Linked DNA regions of Homo sapiens: region 1 is linked to region 2. The links are contacts of gene promoters, found by promoter capture Hi-C in human tissues and cell types (Jung and others, 2019). All regions are on one chromosome and are shown on one strand. The core of a region is centred on a gene start or on the middle of the fragment in contact, and the rest is flanking DNA. Distances in the headings are between cores, read along the strand shown. Region 1 overlaps LOC124904663 (a long non-coding RNA gene). Region 2 holds the start of ZNF626 (zinc finger protein 626).

What was found. The method cuts DNA at HindIII sites, captures the fragments that hold promoters and counts their contacts. A contact is called where the count stands out against the background at its distance.
Region 1: a contact is called between a fragment that was not itself captured here and the fragment with the promoter of ZNF626 in region 2, in 1 of the 25 tissues and cell types used here (hippocampus).

Annotation. Positions count from the first base shown.
Region 1 is chr19:20,412,411-20,416,870 of GRCh38, reverse strand. LOC124904663 (a long non-coding RNA gene) reads left to right here. Exons shown (of 2, transcript XR_007067167.1): 2 at 1,220-1,850. It also overlaps the pseudogene ZNF826P and the pseudogene BNIP3P22. Among named protein-coding and RNA genes, the nearest start is that of MIR1270, 15 kb to the right of the region's middle. The HindIII fragment of the contact is 3,294 bases long and covers 968-4,261 here.
Region 2 is chr19:20,658,948-20,662,960 of GRCh38, reverse strand. It overlaps ZNF626 (zinc finger protein 626), which reads left to right and starts at 1,390. Exons shown (of 4, transcript NM_001076675.3): 1 at 1,390-1,517. The coding sequence starts at 1,515. RefSeq lists a silencer at 1,196-1,265. The HindIII fragment of the contact is 1,409 bases long and covers 985-2,393 here.

The sequences.
Region 1 (4,460 bases), core at 1,365-3,864, 250 kb after region 2:
GGGAATATTTTCTGGCTGACATCATCAATCTTACATCTAATCTGAGCTTTTTCTTAAGATAGTTTTAGCTTTTTTCTCTCAATCTTGCTCAGACGGAGATCTGTTTGTCTCTCCAAAGCTTTAGGTGTCTGTTTCAGAAACCCTATTAATATCCCATTTTTTTCTGAATGAGGTGGGCTGTCATAGTGAGAACTTTTGGAGCTATCTCTATCTTGAGTCATGCTGAAAATTCAGCAGTATTTTTTCCTTGTCACCATTATAAGTAGAAACTGAGGTTGAAACACTGCTCTCATTTCCATTATTGTGAATGTGTAATTCTACCCAGGAGGCCTGCAGGCTCTCCTCCTGCAGCTCAGGCTTCACTATCTGATGTGACACTAAAGTGCTGCTGTGGCAAATGGGATTCACATAAAATGTGAGCTGTGCTCTGGGCTGTGCCTCAGTGGCACATGGTAGAGGTCAAGAGAGCATACTAGCAACCAGGAGAAAGCAAGCAGGAGTGCTGTAGCCCAGTGGCAGGGAGTACAGAACCACAGCTCTAAAATGTAAATAGCAAAAAAGAACCCTATTCAACCATTTTTGTAGCAGAGTAAGAGGCTACCTTCAGCAGGCACCTGGCTTCAAGCTGCTAAACTACCTCCTGTTATGAAGATGTGAAAAGTTTATTTGTCATTGAATATAAGCAATTAGTATACACAGATGGCCTCTTCAATCTCCAGGTGAATTTAGGATGAACTATGTATGACATGGTGCTGGAAATTCTTCTGCTTGGGGACTAATATTGGTGACCATCTTTCTATCTTTGCAGTCTCTTAAGCAGACTGACCATGATGCATGTCACATTCAAGTTCAATTGTGTAATAAAACCATTTTCTTTCTGTTCTATTATTGTGGAGTTTCTCTGGAGCTGGATAAAATCTGTCTTTTAATTATTGTTTCCAAACACTGTCTAGAATTACCAGACATGATATAAACACAAATAAGGTGCCAACCGGAACTTACTCTAGAGGGGACTATTCCTCTCAGGCTTCCAGTCAACTCACACTTGTGCAGCAAAGTGCATGCTGTCCCCTAAATATGAAGGCAGAATTGTGTCCCTGCCTATTTGGTATCTAGAGTCCTTTACAGTCACTGCTAGAGAGACTAGATCAGATTTCTACAAATTTCACAGGGAAGCAATCAATAATTTTTTCTCTTTCAATGACTCTTGTATTTTCAGACCTTAAACAGATTCAGAGACCGTGGGGCCAACAAACTGAACTGGAGTAACATGTGAATTGAGTAGACATGTAGACAAGAAAGTCTCCACTATCCCCTTTCTACTCTTGCTGAAATGCTCACTAATGTGCAAGTAACACCTGCTGCTACTCCTGCCATTCAGGACCTAAATCTGTAGCTCCATATTTTGAATCCAGATCTTGAGATTTGGGAAATAAAAAACTTTTATCTAAAAAGTGCAAGCACTTTTGGTTATCAAACTCAGAGAGATGTTAAAATGAAAGAGCAGTTAACATCTTTCTCTCCCCTTTGAACTATGTATTCATCCCTTGAAACTGTTCACTATTGCCACAAGTAGCTATAAAGTAAATTAACAATGCCACATTGGATACTATATTCTATACCCTAAACAATAATGATATATATCTAATCAATAATCAATATTATTTATCTAAATAAATAAAAACTTCTGACAAACAACTTTGTATCAGACCACTCTATGTCCCTCTCTTGTCTTTACAAATCTTGTAACTGCTGCTAATCAAAGTGTAGATTTCAGGCAACTTGAATCTTTGCTCCCTGGTTATAATCCTTAAGCTTAAACCAAATAAACTGTCTACTTATATTCTTGATATGTCAGCTTTTTTTATTTAGACTTATCACTTAGAATGTTCTAGAGCAGCCTCTATGAGGGTACTCTCCTTTGATTGTACTCCATTTGCTGTAACACCAAAGGATGCAGAGCCAGGTTGATCCTATCTAGAATCTACAGATTAGGTCCGGCCTCTGCCTGGGATTTAAAAAGTGCCAGACTTTGGATATGGAATGTACAGAAAATTAACAAAAGTTATTTTCTGCATTGTAAGTTGTCAAGATAGACATCTTACAGCCCCCATTTCAGAGTGTGGCATTTTGAGTTTTTTTACATCTTTTTCATTGACCTGCTACAGTGATGTGAGAGGCTCCAGGAGGAAATAGAATCTGATGGCAGAATCTGTAAGTGTAAATAATCATCTTAGGAGTGAGAGATCAGGCCACAAAGTATCCAGAGCCATGACCACAACTATGTTTACCTGTAAAATGGGATACTGGAGTAGAGTATTTTTGTTCTGTCTTTTACCCAAGTGCTAGCATATCAGGACAGGTGACCCAGGTTCTGGGGCTCCACCAACGCAGTTTTATTTTCTATTTAGAATCAGCCTGAGTCGCTCCAGCCTGGCTTATCATTGGGCCATCAGCCCTGGGTCACTGGGAATTCCCTCACAATCACCTAGGTTTCTTTGAGGCATTTGAGGATGTCCAGAGTAGAATTGTGTCAGGCTGACAAGAGTGGTTAATTCTGCTTCTGTCTCAGTGTAAAGAAAAATGAGTCATTCTGTGTTTGTTCAACCCATCATACAAGAGTTGTCTTTGGTTTGTACAGGGATGAGAGTTTCTCCAGTTTCCTGGTACTTGGATGATAAACAAGGAGATCTGGAGACCCAAGTAGATAAACTAGTTGCTTCCATTTCTTATGGTCATTAAAAAAAAATACATGAAGCAGTCATGGTACCTACCACCTGAAGGGATATTAATGAACAGTAGAATTGTTATAATTAATTTTTCTTTTTTTGAGATGGAGTCTTAGTCTGTCACCCAGCCTGGAATGCTGTGTCATGATCTTGGCTCACTGCAACCTCTGTCACCTGGGTCTAAGCGATTCTCCTGCCTCAGCCTCTCAAATAGCTATGATTACAGTGCCTCCCACCACAGCCAACTAATTTTTGTATTTTTAGTAGAGAAGAGGTTTCACCATCTTAGTCAGGCTGGTCATGAACTCCTGACTTCATGATCCATCTACCTCAGCCTCCCAAAGTGTTGGTATTATAGGTGTAAGCCACTGTGCCCAGCCGTATAATTTCTGTTCTTTTACCTTCGTAAGTGTACACACTGATTTTCTTATAAAATTACCCTAGAAAACCTTAAGAGAATTGTTTAAATTGCATATTAGTATACAGTATAAAGTTGACAGAGCAGTGCTAGAAAATATTAAAATTACAGAAACTCTGGGGTTTTTCTTTTAGGTAAGATTAGAAAAAAAGAAAACTGTTAGTACCACAGTGGCATAGAGAACAGAATTCTATAGGATCCTCACCTTGTCCCAGACATGTTCAGATTCACCCTTTTTGGAGGCCTTATTTAGGTCTGACCCTACTCTGGAGTCTTGCCTCACAGAACTGATTAGAAGATATCAGAGTTTTGGCTGGTGAATCCAATTTCCTGAAACCCAAAAGCAGATAAATGGGAAAAATAAAGTATGTATTGTAGAGTCTTAGTTTTTAAATTTTCTGTTAAAACCAGTGTTGGCAGAGACATTCTATTTAGCAACTTGTTTTCTATTCCTGCAGATCCAGTAGTTGCTCCACAAGTCACAGAAAAGTAAACATAAACAGAATAAAATTTTCTCTAAACTACAATAAACTCTTCTATATCTCTTTCATCTGTATATATTTAGCTTTTATTCTTTACAATGTTTAAAAAAATTTGGTAACAGAGAAACAGAAGAGGCAGTAAAAATTCTCTGCCCTTTATCTAAATCCTGGAAATTATTAAACCCTGAGTACTAGCTCCAAGAATGTTACAAGAATTAAATCACATAATATGTTATGCCCAGCATAGTGCTCTGTATCATACTCTTGAGCACAAAGTACCTGCTTAATAAACATTGCATTTGTACATGTGTACATGTTTTTTAAATGCAGACTTATCCAGACATTGCTGCCTTCTGTTTCCTCTGTAAACTTTAAAGACCCAGCAAAGAATATAAAACTTTAGCATAGATGTGTTGTCCTTATTTGTACCAGAAGTATTTGGTTGTGACAAGAGTTCTAAGTGTAAGGGACCCTCTGCTATTCCTGCTTTCTCTAATGCTAATAATGAGCCAAGGAGAAGCAACATCAGCATTGACAGGGGACTTGTTTAAAACACCCATTTATGGACCCTTTTCAAACCTACAGAATCACATAAAGTGGAGTCAAAATTACCAAGTGATTTATAAGCTTCTTAAAGCTTGAGAGGCAATGCTTAGCTTAGTGGTTATCAGCCCAGGCTTCTCATTAGGATCACATGGCCAATTTGCAGAAATCTCTTGTGCCTTCCCCACCGGTTCTGTTTATTGTTCTGGGTGGAAGTATCCATGTTGTTTTAATGAAGGGCTTCACGTGACTCTAAGGGGAGGCCAGAATCAGGTATGAGGGTCTCAA
Region 2 (4,013 bases), core at 141-2,640:
TACAGACAAGGAGAGGTCTTTGGAGCTTTGGTGCAGTCTGGGATCCTAGCTCTTTTTGTAACAAGTTGTTTGGCATGAGGCCCAGTTGCAACTGGGCTCTTTGCAACTGGGCTCAAGGAACACAAAAAAGTCAACTTGTTTTTTTTGCGATTGGCTATTGTTTTTCAATAACTAACGTATAGGAATAGATTAAAATAGAGATTTCTCCAAAACAATCTGTGCCCAGTTCTCTTTGCCCAGCTTGGCCTCAGTCCCATTCAGCCAGAAGATGGCAGCTGCGCTGACAGCCAGGCCCCCAGAAGTCCTGCCTCTTCACTGCGCTGTGACTGTGCCCTGGCCTGGAGCCCACTTTGGGCAGCTCTGCACCTGCAGCATGGCGTCTCTCCCAGATTGTGCAGGGACCAGGGGAAGGTCGGCAGGTGAATGCCTCAAGGGGCTCACATAACCTGTTCCAGGACTTGGTGACCATTGTTTGTGTCCATGTTCAACTGAGTTCAAATTTAATATTTAACTTTTCCTCCACAAATTCCCCTGTCTTGATGAATCATCTCTGTCTAGGCAAGATGAAGCCCTTAGGCCGTTACACAACCTCCGCCTCCTGGGTTCAAGCGATTCCCCTGCTTCAGCCGCCGTAGCACCTGGGACTACAGGTGTGTACCACCACACCTGGCTAATTTTTTGTGTTTTTACTAGAGATGAGATTCAACATGTTGGCCAGGCTGGTCTTGAACTCCTGACCTGAAGTGATCCACCCACTTTGGCCTCCCAAAGTGCTTGGATTACAAGCGTGCACCAGCGGACTGGCCCTAAATGATTTCTTTGTCTCTTGTAACAGTTTGAAATTACTTAAAGGTTGTTTCAAATTGAAAAAATAAAAAGAATGTAGATAAAAATAAAATATAAAAAGTTAAAAAATTACATTAGATTACAAAATATGTATGTAAATCTCGAGAGGTCAAAAATGACAAATTTGATTTTTTATAAGGTTTTATCAAAATTACCTTTAGTATTGATAATACATTATTGCCAAAGTAAAAGTTGATTTTCTCTTGAACAAAAATTTTATGTATTATTAATATGAGAGCAAAATACTTCTGTTCACCTTTTGAATACATTCAAAAAGAGAGAGAGTAAAGAAAAGATAGAATTCTCCCATGCTCTGGGGTGGGCCTGGCTCAGCTCAGGAAGGAAGCCCTGCCTGAAAAGGCTGCAGCTTAGGCTGTCACTCTTTCTTCACTCAGCTCAGCGTCTGATCACATCTACTGTCACTCAGGGCCTCAGGGGGCGGGGCCTTAAGCATTATCCAATCAGGGATGGTGGGCTGGAAACCATCCAATCAGGAACGCAGCTGGAGCGAAGAGGACGGTTTCCGGGTTTGGTGCGGCCTTTGTCTCTCGCTGCAGTCAGAGCTCCAGGTCTGGTTCTTCTCCTAAAGGCCCAGGCTGTGTGGCCCCGTGTCCTGCAGGTATTGGGAGATCCACAGCTAAGACACCGGGACCTCCTGGAAGCCAAAAATGGTGAGAGTGAGGGTCCGACATCCCGAGAGAGGAGAGGGACTGGTTGGAACCGGTGAAAAGTGGCTGTGGCGGGACTCAGGCCTCCCCGCAGTCAGCTCCACAGTCTGCTCCCCCAGTTCTCCTTGCTCAGCTCGGCCTCAGTCCTGTTCAGCCATAAAATGGCAGCTGCGCTGACAGCCGGCACCCGGGCGTCTTGTCTCTTCACTGCGCGGTGACTACCCTGGCCTGGAGCCCTCTCTGGGCAGCTCTGCACCCGCAGCGTGGCGTCTCTCCCAGATTGTGCAGGGACCAGGGGAGGGTGGGCAGGGGAGAATCCTGACTCGGGGTGCGGGTTCATGAATGGGAAGAGCTTTGTTCCTTTGGGTTTACAGTTTCTCTTTTCTCCTATTAAAAATGTATGGGGCCGGACGCTGTGGCTCACGCCTGTAATCCCAACGTTTTGGGAGGCCGAGGCGGGCGGATCACTTGAGGTAAAGAGGTGTTAGGACAACTAAGTTCCTTTTAAATGACTCAACTTTCTGGTCATAAGTTGTAAAAGTTGTAAATCAACCCTACCTCTTCTTCTACCCCCTTTTCCTTTTCTCGCAAATCGCGCATTTACTTTATTTGGAAAAAGTTTGGGTCTAAGCTTACCAGGATCAGCTTAGATTGTGCGGTCTGATCCCAGCCAATAGGGGATGGAAACAAAAACAGGAACTGCATTAGGGTTCAAAACCCCTTTCTTGCTGGGCGCGGTGGCTCAAGCCTGTAATCCCAGCACTTCGGAGGCCGAGGCAGGTGGATCACGTGGTCAGGAGTTCTAGACCAGCCTGGCCAACGTGGTGAAACCCGTCTCTACTAAAAATACGAAAACTATCGGCGTGTTGGCACGTGCCTGTAGTACCAGCCACTTGGGAGGCTGAGGCACGAGAATTGCTTGAACCCGGGAGGCGGAAGTTGCAGTGAGCTGAGATCCAATCATCGCGCTCCAGCCTGCGTGACAAAGCGAGACTCCGGCTCAAAAAAAAGAAAAAAAAAGTAAGCATCTTAAAAATTCCTTTATGTAAACATTGTGAGTAATTTCACTGGAGTTTCTAACACTTAGTTTCAAAAACCAAGTGAATAACTGATGTGGACATTAAAGCTTGAACCTAGTGACTCCAAGCTAAGGCTAATATTAAGCCTGCAACAGGGTATTTTTTTTTTTTTTTTTTTTTTTTTAGACACAGTGTCGCTTGTGGTGCCCAGGCTGGAATGTAATGGCGTGATCTCGGCTTACTGGGTTCAAGCGATTCTCCTACCTCAGCCCCACCAGTAGCTGGGATTACAGGCATGCACCATCACGCCCGGCTAATTTTGGTGTTTAGTAGAGACGGGTTTTCTCCATGTTTGTCAGGCTGGTCTTGAACTCTCTGCCTCAGACCCGCTTCGGCCTCCCAAAGTGCTGGCATTATCGGTGTGAGCCACCGCACCCGGCCAACAGGAGGTTATTAAAGGCCCTGTTATTTTTTTCTGGGGAGTCTCCCTTGCGGATATCTCAAGACTGCTCACCCCAGCCACGGAAGGAGCCTTCATTCTGAAAGAAGCTACAAAGCCTTGGAAAGCTGGGGCCCCACAGGCAGATGCAGTCAAGATTAAGATGAAAGGAAACTGGGAGGGTCTTACTGGTAATGAAGTTGTTATGGTTTTGAGGCACTTTTTACGCTTTCTAAAATAAGAATATTAGATTTATGTAAAAAAAAAATGAATTCCTAAGAAGTATTGCAACAGGAAGAAGTACCAGCTAACTAAAAAATCTTCATGGGTTGCAAAAATGTAGGCAGAAAAGGGCTTTTCTCCTACATTGGAGATGGCTTATCTCCATCCCTCACTAGCCTGAGGGATGGAGATAAACTTAAGTAAAGTTTGATTAAGAAATATTTTAGGCTGAGCGCCATGGCTCAGGCATGTAATCCCAGCAGTTTGGGAGGCCTAGGCGGACGGATCACCGCAAGTCAGGAGCTTGAGACCAGCCTGGTCAACATGGTGATAACCCTGTGTCTACTAAAAATACAAAAATTAGCTGGTAGTTGTGGTGGCCACCTGTAATGCCAGCTACTTGGGAGGCTGAGGCAGGAGAATTGCTTGAACCATGGAGACAGAGGTTGCAGTGAGCTGAGACGGTGCCAAGGCACTCCAGCCTGGGTGGCCGAGCGAGACTCCATCTCAAAAAAAAAAAATTATTTTGACCACTGAAGACAAATTCAGCTGAATTTCTTAATGAGAAAAAGGAGAAAATGTACAGAGTGTGTGTCTGGCTGTGTGATAGGTAAGAAAAGAGAGCACCATCTAAGTCATAATGAGAAAGGCGTTTCTTTCCGTATACTGTTCCTGGAGCACACAAAAGGTGGAGAATTTTATTAATCACAAATATTTTCCAGGATTTTCTATGTGTTTCATCTTTCCCCATCTCTTTGTTCTATGCATTTCTTCCATTTGGCTTTTCCTGGGCTGCATCTTTTATATGAAACCGGTAAA